3 separate regions of the Homo sapiens genome follow, and all the other regions are linked to region 3. The links are contacts of gene promoters, found by promoter capture Hi-C in blood cells and fetal thymus (Javierre and others, 2016). All regions are on one chromosome and are shown on one strand. Each heading gives the region's core, a stretch centred on a gene start or on the middle of the fragment in contact. The rest is flanking DNA. Distances are from core to core; before and after follow the strand shown.

The links. The method cuts DNA at HindIII sites, captures the fragments that hold promoters and counts their contacts. A CHiCAGO score of 5 or more calls a contact.
Region 1: a contact is called between a fragment that was not itself captured here and the fragment with the promoter of POLM in region 3, in 1 of 17 cell types (neutrophils). The highest score is 6.0, in neutrophils.
Region 2: a fragment that was not itself captured here is called in contact with the fragment with the promoter of POLM in region 3 in 1 of 17 cell types (neutrophils); the score reaches 5.0 in neutrophils.

The regions. Positions count from the first base shown.
Region 1 is chr7:44,837,175-44,841,069 of GRCh38, reverse strand. It overlaps H2AZ2 (H2A.Z variant histone 2), which reads left to right. Exons shown (of 5, transcript NM_012412.5): 3 at 58-171. Among named protein-coding and RNA genes, the nearest start is that of H2AZ2, 9.0 kb to the left of the region's middle. The HindIII fragment of the contact is 6,713 bases long and covers 1-3,895 here.
Region 2 is chr7:44,615,957-44,619,623 of GRCh38, reverse strand. All of the region lies in intron 1 of OGDH (oxoglutarate dehydrogenase), which reads right to left. Among named protein-coding and RNA genes, the nearest start is that of OGDH, 11 kb to the right of the region's middle. The HindIII fragment of the contact is 6,053 bases long and covers 1-3,667 here.
Region 3 is chr7:44,081,280-44,084,719 of GRCh38, reverse strand. It overlaps POLM (DNA polymerase mu), which reads left to right and starts at 2,190. Exons shown (of 11, transcript NM_013284.4): 1 at 2,190-2,469. The coding sequence starts at 2,282. RefSeq lists a silencer at 1,625-2,204 and an enhancer at 1,916-2,416. The HindIII fragment of the contact is 8,170 bases long and covers 1-3,440 here.

The sequences.
Region 1 (3,895 bases), core at 1,083-3,582, 760 kb before region 3:
CAGTCAGTGCAATGTTAAGACTCTGCAGTGCTTCCCACTAAGACATCTCTCTTTTAGTTTCCTGTGGGCCGCATCCACAGACACTTGAAGACTCGCACCACAAGCCATGGAAGGGTGGGTGCCACTGCTGCCGTGTACAGTGCTGCGATTCTGGAGTACCTCACTGCAGAGGTTTGTACAGGAATGTCTGTTGTATATGGCCATCCAGAAGGTGCACTAGTCTCAGTGACAGAAACCCATGGAATATATTTGAAAAAAGACATATTATGCTCACTGGGGCTTTTTTGTTTGTTTGTTTGGAGACAGAGTTTCACTCTTGTTTCCCAGGCTGGAGTGCAATGGCCAGTCTCGGCTCACTGCAACCTCTGCCTCCCGGATTCAAGCGATTCTCCCACCTCAGCCTCCCAAGTAGCTGGGACTACAGGTGTGCACCACTGTGCCCAGCTAATTTTTGTATTTTTAGTAGAGACAGAGTTTCACCATGTTGGCCACACTGGTCTCAAACTCCTGACCTCAGGTGATCTACCTGCCTCAGCCTCCCAAAGTGCTGAGATTACAGGCTTGAGCCACCACGTCCGGCCTCATTGGTTTCTTTAATAGCAGTTTGAGATGCATCTTGTCAGCTATTACCCAATGCCAATGTAAAAGAACCTTGGTGTACTTGTTTTTAAAGCTAAGCAAGGGGCTGGGCACAGTGATTCACGCCTGTAATGCCAACACTTTGGGCGGCTGAGGTGGGTAGATTGTACACTTGAGTCCTGGAGTTCCAGACTAGGCTGGGTGACAGAGCAAGACCCTATCTCAAAGTAAAAAAATTTTTAAAAGTTAAGCAAGGGCCAGCAATCTCTTATCTTTTATTTTTATTTTTTTATTTTGAGACTGGGTCTCACTCTGTCACCTAGGCTGGAGTATAGTGGCATGATCATAGCTCACTCCAACCTCAAACCTCCTGGGTTCAAAGGATCCTCCTGCCTCAGCCTCCCTAGTAGCTGTGACTTCAGGTGTGTGCCACCACACCTGGCTAATTATTTATTTATTTATTTATTTATTTATTTATTTATTTATTTTGAGACAGGGTCTTGCTCTGTATCCCAGGTGGAGTGCAATGGCACAATCTTGGCTCACTGCAACCTCCACTTCTTGGGTTCAAGCAATTCTCCTGCCTCAGCCTCCCCAGTAACTGGGATTACAGGCACCCGCCACTACACCCGGCTAATTTTTGTATTTTTAGAGGAGACTGGGTTTCACCATGTTGGCCAGGTCAGTCTCAAATTCCTGACCTCAGGTGATCCACTTGCCTCAGCCTCCCAAAGTGCTGGGACTACAGGTGTGAGCCACTGCGCTGGGTGCTAATTTTTTATTTTTATTTTATTTATTTATTTTTTTTTGAGACAGAGGCTCGCTCTGTCACCCAGGCTGGAGTGCAGTGGTGCAGTCTCGGCTCACTGCAACCTCCGCCTCCCGGATTCACGCCATTCTCCCACCTCAGCCTCCCGAGTAGCTGGGACTACAGGCACCCGCCACCACGCCCGGCTAATTTTTTTTTTTTGTATTTTTAGTAGAGACGGGGTTTCACCGTGGTAGCCAGGATGGTCTCGATCTCCTGACCTCGTGAGCCACCCACCTCCACCTCCCAAAGTGCTGGGATTACAGGCGTGAGCCACCGCGCCCAGCCTATTTTTTATTTTTTTGTGGAGACAGGGCTCCCTATGTTACCCAGGCTGGTTTCTAACTCCTAGCCTCAAGTGGTCCTCCCAAGTTGCTGGGATTACAGACATAAACCACCATACCCCAGTGAACTTTGAAGTATGTATGTAATCAGTAGACAGTATTTGTGAAGTTAGAGCATAATGTTGTAGTTTATGAAGATTTGGGATGATGTAAAGTTTGGCCAGTGTGATGATATATAAAAATCACAAATATGATAATAGAAGTAAAAGACTCAGTCTGTCCTGGTTCTCTGCAGGGTTATACATACAAAATTGCTGTATATTACTCAGTTTGAAATTTCAGGAAGACAAGTTAATTGGGCAAGAGTTCTTGGGTCACAGACCACCACTTTCCCCATCCCTATTCCTCCTTTAAAAAAATCCGTTGGGAAGTCATAAAACTTCAGCTACATTCCAGATTGGGGAAGTAATTTGAGTAACAAGTAGGTCAAGTGTAGACGCATTCATTCTGGTGGAAACAGAAGGGTCTTACTTGGGGAGATGTGATTGGGAGCTAGGCTGAGGAATTTAGCTTTTAATCTGTATGTCAGTTATCATTGCTGTCATTTATTTCATTAGTCTCACCAAGTCATCTGTGTCCCACTGGGGATTTAACATCGAATTATGGATGTTATGGATAGTTTCAGCTTCTCTGTGTCATGATCAAGGGGTGTTTTGTTTTTGGGGTTTTTCTTGTGTGTTTGTTTTGAGACAGGATCTCTCTCTGTCTCCCAGGCTGGAAGGCAGGGACATGATCTCTGCTCATTGCAACCTCTGCCTTCTGGGTTCCAGTAATTCTCCCACCTCAGCCTCCGGAGTAGCTGGGGCTACCGGTGTGCATCACCACACCTGGCTAATTTTTGTTATTTTCTTGTAGAGACAAGGTTTTGCCATGTTGGCCAGGCTGATCTCGAACTCCTGACCTCAAATGATCTGTCCGCCCCAGCCTCCCAAAGTGCTGGGATTACAGACATGAGCCACCTTTTATTAAAAGAGGCCACCTGGCCTCTTTTATTTTTAAAAATTTTTAAATTTTAATTAAAATACATTTTAAAACTTTTCTATAAGCATTAAGAAATAAATTTCACGGCTGGGCACGGTGGCTTACGCCTGTAATCCCAGCACTTTGGGAGGCTGAGGTGGGCAGATCACGAGGTCAAGAGATCGAGACCATTCTGGCCAACATAGTGAAACCCTATCTCTACTAAAGATACAAAAATTAGCTGGGCATGGTGGCGTGTGTCTGTGTATAGTCCCAGCTACTCAGGAGGCTGAGGCAGGAGAATTGCTTGAACCCAGAAGGCAGAGGTTGCAGCGAGCCGAGATCGCGCCACTGCACTCCAGCCTGGCGACAGAACGAGACTCCGTCTTAAAAAAAAGAAAAAAAAAGAAATTTCAGCTATTAAAGGTTCTGCAGAAATAGACCACATAGATATATTAAAATATATGACTTTGGCTGGGTGTGGTGTCTTACATTGAACATTGTGGTTCACAAGGTTCAAGCCCCATCTATCTAAGCCCCCCCCCCCTTTTTTTTAAATCTTTGGGAACTTTGGTTAAAATTTTTAAAGTTTACACAGTGGCTCATGCCTGTAATCTCAGCACTTTGGGAGGTCAATGTGGGCAGATCATTTGAGTCCAGGACTTCCAGACCAGCCTGGACAACATGGCAAAACCCTGTCTCTACAAAAAAATACAAAAAATTGACCAGATGTGATAGTGTGCACCTGTAGTCCCAGCTAGTGGAGAGGGTGAGGTGGGATGATTACCTGACCCAGGAGGTTGAGGCTGCAGTGAGCCATGATTGCACCACTGCACTCCAGCCTGCATGACAGTGAGACCATGTCTCAAAAAAAAAAAACAATTTAGGTTAAGATTGGACAATGAATGTGTGGGTGCAGTCAACTTTTTTTTTTTTTTTTTTTTTCTTTTTTTTTTTTTTGAGAGTCTTGCTCTGTCGCCCAGGCTGGAGTTCAGTGGCTCAATCTCGGCTCACTGCAACCTCCACCTCCTGGGTTCAACCGATTCTCCTGCCTCAGCCTCCCAAGTAGCTGGGATTACAGGCGTGTGCCACCACACCTTGCTGATTTTTGTATTTTTAAAGTTCAGCAGTTGATTCTCCTGTATACCCAACACTGCTCTATTTAAAACGAGGAGGTGGCCTGGCGTAGTGGTTCACGTCTGTA
Region 2 (3,667 bases), core at 756-3,255, 540 kb before region 3:
CAAAACGTGTTATATCTATAGAATATAACAGCATTCTGCAATGAAACTAAGGAAGTGCTGGTGCATGCTCCAACCTGGAGGAACCTTGAAAACATTATGCTCAGTAAAAAGCAGCAGACGCAAAAGACATATTATGAGTCTATTCCTCTGCTCTCACACAACAACCAACACAGAAGATTTCTGTGACTAAATGTGTGGGGAATTCTCCCTACCAATAAGCAATTCAATTCTGCTGCTACCTACCTGGAGACAGCATCAGATACCACAGGTCAAGGGCTCAATCCCACAAGGCTGCCTCCTACTTCCGATGTCAATCGCAAGCCCCCAGTTGTCTTACTTGTACTTCTGGCCAACCAGCTAGAAACTGGAGATCCCATGACCCCCTCCTTTGGTTCAATAAATTTCAGGAAACACTTACTTACATCTACTGTTTTTTTCAAAGAATATAACATAGGATGTGGATTAAGAGTTGCACAGGTCAAGGTGTAGGATGGGGTAAGGAGGCTTCCATACCCTCCCCAGGCATGCCACCCTCCAGGAATCTCCACATGTTCAGCTATCCAGAAGCTCTCCGTACCCCATCCTCTTGGGCCTTTTATGGAGACTTCATTGGATATGCATGACTGAAGCATAGATAACCATGTAGATAGGTGATCAGGCAAAAAGGGTATGATCTAATACCAACAGACCGAGTGGGGAAACCCAGCCAGGCCTGTTTGTTCAGATTCTTCTTGGCCTCTCTGTGCAGGATTCCTTCCTGTGGGTGTGAGGCAGGACTCCTGAAGTGGGTGTCTTGTGACCTACAATCAGACAAGGTAGGTCAGAGAATTTCTTTATTGCCGGCTCCAAGACAGAACAGTGGAGGAATATTAGAGTATATTTTTAGTTTCTATGGCCTCCCTTGGGGAGAAAAAGCAGCAGGTGAAAGGAGTGCCACAGGCCTGTTTCTGGGGCCTAAAGCACCCCAACATTGTAACAAAAGACTTCCACCTTTATCACTCTGAAGCTGTTTGGAAGCTACTTCAGGAACCAAGGAGAAATACTTTAACAAAATACATGCTTATTTTAGTTACTTAGGAAATAACAAGAACTATGGAACCAGGAATCATGGACAAAAACCCATATACGATAATAATATCACATTCCAGAATAGGCAAATCTATACAGAGAGAAAGTAGATTAGTGGTTGCCTGGGGCTGGGGCAGAGAAATGAGGGAAGGATGAGGAGTAACTCAATGGACATAGGGCTTTCTTTTTGGGAGGAGAGGATGAAAATGCTCTAAAACTAGATTGTGCTGATGGTGTCACAACCCTCTAATATACTGAAAAACATTCACCTTACAATTTAAATGAGTGAATTGTATGGTATGTGAATTATGTCTCAATAAAGTTATTTTTTTAATGTGTAAGAAAAAATGTAACTGAACTTATCACTGTACACAAAAATGATACAAGTTGTAATCCATTAATTTCAAGATGCAAAAATAAACACATACATTTGGGAAAAATAAGTTGTACAAAGAAAAAAAGTAAAAACCAAAGGAAAATTAGTTTTTAGGTGTTAAACGCCCTGCCCTTAGGAAACGATATACTTAAATAGGGTTCTGTCTGAAATATGAAGCCTTCGAGGTCTATGCCTCGAATTTCCCCAGTTGGGTAGGAGGTACCCTATCCCAGGGCACAAAGAATGAGGGAAATAAACCAACTACTGACGCCTATCAATATGACATTGGCTAGGTAGGGGGGTGATTAAAAAGGCAAGACCTAGCAAAAACAGTCTGCTGTTTCTCAGTAAATAAGTCTTTGAGGGAAAAAAACCCACACATCATTACATGATCCTTAAACCCTATGAGTGTTAGCTGGCAACCATTTTAAAGGACAACTCATCCACTTTCTTTTTTTCAGTTTCAGACTCAATTCTTCTGATGAATCATGAACACATTTGCTACAGACCTATGGCTGTTGTCTCATGCCTGCAATTATTTTTGTTTTAGTAGTAATACAAAGAACTCATGTACAGAGTACAGATATCAATTCTCCCTTATTGGCTGAGAATCTCAAAGAATTTATTATCTTTCACTAGTGACACCTCATTACATATAAGCTGAGGGAAGTAGTGAGGATTACTTTTAAACTGTAAAGTTTTTTTTCATTGCTAGATGGAAACAATTGTTGAGCCTGCAGGTACAGAGACCGTGTGACACCAAGTCACTGTGTGAGCTTTCCTGGGCCAACAGAGACCACGTGACACCAAGTCACTGTGTGAGCTTTCCTGGGCCATAAAGTGGAGACAGTAATTACTCCTAACCCCCTCATAATGTCTTTTTGTAATTGTAACACAAATATGAAAGCACTTTGAAAACTTGAAGGTATATCTATGACTAAAGAAATGGTTGGGTATGGTGGTTCATGCCTGTAATCCCAGCACTTTGGGAGGTCGAGGTGGGTGGATCACCTGAGATCAGGAGTTTGAGACCAGCCTGGCCAACATGCTGAAACCCCGCCTCTACTAAAACTACAAAAAAATTAGCTGTGCATTGTGGCGGGTGCCTGTAGTCCAGCTACTTGGGAGGCTGAGGCAGGAGAATTGCTTGAACCCGGGAGGTGGTTACTGTGAGCCGAGATCGCGCCACTGCACTCCAGCCTGGACGACAGAGTGAGACTCCAGAGCTCCGAAAGGAGTCTCGCTCTGTCGTCCAGGATGGAGTGCAGTGGCGCGATCTCGGCTCACATATATACATATATATATACGTATATATATATGTGTATATATATACACGTATATGTGTATATATACACATATATACGTATATATGCATATATATACACATATATATATGCATATACACATATACGTGTATATATATACACATATACACTTATATACGTATATATGTGTATATATACATAAACATGTGTGTATATATATACATATACATATGTGTATATATACGTATATACGTATATATATGTGTATATATACATAAACATGTGTATATATATATACATATATATATGTAGCCTAGGAAAAAAGGCAAACTAGTGATATAAAAAGTTCAAGTTTCCAAGATATTTAAACCTAAACATTAGCTAATTTGGAGTGGCGGTCAACTGGTAACTTCCAAAACATTAGTAGGCTGTCTCCATCATTTAGCACAGAAGCCTATTTAGCTCACCAATCATGGGTGGTCACCACTGGTAGGGACTGACACCTCCCTGATCAGATCCCTGAGTACGCTTCAGTATATAGGTCTGAAGACTGTTCTGCCCTTTCCCTGAGACGTGGCCCCACAGCATCTGAGATGCCCATGACTGATGTGGTATAAACAGGTTGACTGGGGAGGGTGTAGATAAATAGGCACTTTTAAAAGGTATTGATAGAGTGTAAATTATTAAATCTTTATGGAAAGCAGGACAATTTTTCAACATCTCATTAAAGCATATATAAAACGTGTTTCCTGCTAAATATAGCTAAAAACATGAGGCGTTACATTTAAGACAAAACAAGACTGTGAAAGGTGGAGAGAAGGAAGCAGACTGGCTAGGAACCAGAGGACCCAAAGAAAGAGCATTGAGGTTTTTTTTTTTTTTCTTTCTGTCAGGGTCTTGCTCTGTTGCCCAGGCTGGAGTGCAGTGGTGTGATCTCGGCTCACTGCAGCCTGGACCT
Region 3 (3,440 bases), core at 941-3,440:
ACTTACAATTCTGCAAAGGTGGTTTCACCTCCACGGCAGGCCACCTCTCCCTGGGTATAGGGCACATCTTCGTCCTGCAGAGCAGGCAAGTCCCTCTCTCTCCCCACCTCCTCACCCCTTCTTGCCCCCACTGGCCAATCTTCATGAATCCTTCAGCCCCATGTTGTCCTAGCAGACACTTTGCAGCAACCACTCAGAGGGCCTGGCTGATTTCTAAGCTAGGCAGTTTCTTCCACTGTCATTTGGATGAGATTCCTTGCACAAACATTTTTGCACAGTTGCCCAGTGTTTTAAGTATTCAGGTCTCATAGTCTTAAAAACTGCCTCTGCCTTCCCAGGAGAGAACAAGGGCTCCAAGGGGAGCCCAGGTGCTCTGGCCAGACAGAGGACATTAAAAGGAACAGAAATGGTTTTAGACAGCTAGAGGGATCTGCTCAGGGGATATTTGGGCAGAGCCTCCTCCTTGAGAAGGGTAGGAGCCAGATCCACAGACGAAGACCCTTAGAGCCTGCCCATCCCTGCTGGCACAAGGGGAGGATGGGGAGAGAGGGACCATACGCAGGCCTCCTGGCTTCTGTATGTGGGTCCTGAGGCCCAGGAAGCTCTACAGCCCTGAAGAGGTAGATGAATTAGGAGGCTGGGAGATGGTGTAGGAGGTCAAGAGGATGCCTGGGCTGAGCCATCTCCCCCACTCCCCTCAGCCCTGTGCTCTGAGTGCAGAGATGGGGAAGAGCCAGCCCACTAAAGATGTCAGAGAGGAGCCAAAGAAAAAGGATAGGTGCTCAAGGAGTCTGGGGCTCAAGACTGAGGACGATGGGGCAGTGATGAGGAGAGGCATGTGGAAGGGGGTTGCATCTGATCTGGTGTCCCATCAGTTAGGCTGAGCAGTGCCACACTACCGTAACAGAGGTTACAAATGGAGTATATCTAAATAAGATAGACAGAAGACTTGATATTATCAAGACATCAGATTTCCCCAGCTTGATCTATAGATTCAATGCAATCCCAATCTTGGGAAAGGAATTGCTGGATCAATGTGTATTATTTTGTTTTCATTTTGTTGGATGTGGTTGCCACATTGGCTTCCACAGTCCTTCCTATGGATTGCCAATTACCTCGCACCTTCAACATGTGTGGTCAATTTTTTTGAATGTTTGATAAACCCACAACTGAAGATATTCTCATTTAGGTATTCTGTAACGACTGGACAGGTTGGGCACTCTGGTCATAAATTTATTGACCAGGATTTCTTCTAAGAATCATCTACGTGAGTTTTTTTGCTAATTTTTCTATTAAATTATTGTCTTTTTATCTATGGACAATTTGATAAGATTATCATGAGATAATCTTAATTCCAAAATATCTCACACTTTATCCCAGTTTATCTTCTGACTCTAATTTTTAATCAGATTTAAAATTTGTCTGTAGTCCAGTTTATCATTCTTTTCCTTTAGTGTTTCCAAGTTTATTGTGATATTTAGATCATAAAAACATTCACCGACTTTTTTCCAGTACGTTGTTGGTTTCCTTTTTAGATGGAAATGTTTGACCCATCTGGAATTTATTTTGGTGTTAAGGAATGAGGAAGGGCACCAACTTCTATTTTTCCAAATGGCCTGCCAGTTGTCCTAATGCCATTCGACTGAAAAATCTTCCCGCGTGTTTGAAGCGACCGCCCCACCAGCGCATTGGAAACCCGCGTGTCGGTCCTGCGCCCGCCGGCTTCCGTGTGACAGTCCCGAGCGCAGAGGGATCGGGCACAGCCCGCACGCGTCCGCCCCGAGCCGCCGGCTCAACCCTAGACCCAGCCCCGGCGCCAAGGACACAGCCCACCCCGCTCCGCCCGGGCCTAGGTCCCAGTTCACCCTCCCTAGCCGGGGACGCCCCCTTGACCCCGCCTCCTCCACCCCCTCCAACACCCTCCCCGCCCCGCTCCAGCCCAGCCTCTCCTCCCGGAGGCCAATGGGGCCGAACAGCGCTTTCCGAGACATTAATTTAAATAAAAGGCGGGTCCTCTGCCGTTATTTGCATGGAGGCGGGTCTTCCGGAGCGGCCGGGACACCCAATCCTGTAGGAGCCCGGACCCTCCCCAGCGCTCCGACTGGCCCAAGTAGCGAGCCCCACGGAGAGGCCTCATTTGCATAGGGCGGGGCCACGTCCTCTTCCAGCCGGCGGCCGCCCGCCCGCCCACCCGCTTCCGTCAGCCTCACTGGGGCTTCCTTCCGTCTCGCTCGGAGTTTCCCTCTGCGTTCGCTCCGCGCTGCTGGAGGCTGTCGTCCCAATGCTCCCCAAACGGCGGCGAGCGCGGGTCGGGTCCCCTAGCGGCGATGCCGCTTCCTCCACGCCGCCCTCGACGCGCTTCCCGGGAGTCGCCATCTACCTGGTCGAGCCTCGCATGGGTCGCAGCCGCCGGGCCTTCCTCACAGGCCTGGCGCGCTCCAAAGGCTTCCGCGTCCTTGACGCCTGCAGGTGCGGGGCGGCGCGGCGCGGCGAGGGCTTCCATGGCACTTCTGGTTTTGGATTCTAAGTTTGCAGTGGCACTTCGTGGTCTTGTGACCTTTCCCTGAGCCTCCATCTCCTCTTCTGTAAAGGGTGCTATTAATTAGGGCGAGGCGTGTTTTAAAGGATCACTGCGAGAATCAAAACCAGAGGTCAGGGGTAATTAATAAGCAGTAGGCCGGGCGCGGTGGCTCACGCCTGTAATCCCAGCACTTTGGGAGGCCGAGGCGGGCAGATCACGAGGTCAGGAGATCGAGACCATCCTGGCTAACACGGTGAAACCCCGTCTCTACTAAAAATACAAAAAATTAACCGGAGGTGGTGGCGGGCACCTGTAGTCCCAGCTACTCGGGAGGCTGAGGCAGGAGAATGGCATGAACCTGGGAGGCGGAGCTTGCAGTGAGCCGAGATCGCGCCACTGCACTCCAGCCTGGGCGACAGAGTGAGACTCTGTCTCAAAAAAAAAAAAAAAAAAAGTCGTATTTGCTAACAGCCCTTCTGCCTGGGCTATGTCCCACCTGTGAGCGAGACTGACTTCTCAAGAGGCCCGGAGCCCGCAGGCTCCTCTGTCCTCAGGCCTGAGTAAATAACACGACTGAGAAGCTCTTGTAGGAAGGGAACCAAGAGAAGAAAAAATGGCGGCTACAGAGACAACACCCAGAGTAAGGGAGCTGGGGGTGCCCCCTAGTTTGGAGGTTGAGAGAGCAAACGAACCTGGGGCTAGTATTCCCCCACAGTTGTGTTTGATTTTTTAACATTACCAGGGATCAGTAGTGCGCCAGACCCACTCAGGAGAGGATGATAGCAGCTTAGAGTGTACAAGGCACTATCTTTGTACAACAACCCCACAGGGTGGATATGTTATCTCTGCTTTACAGAAGAGGAAATCAAAGTATAGACACGTGGCTTGCCCAAGAGCCAAACAAGTATGTGGCAGGCAG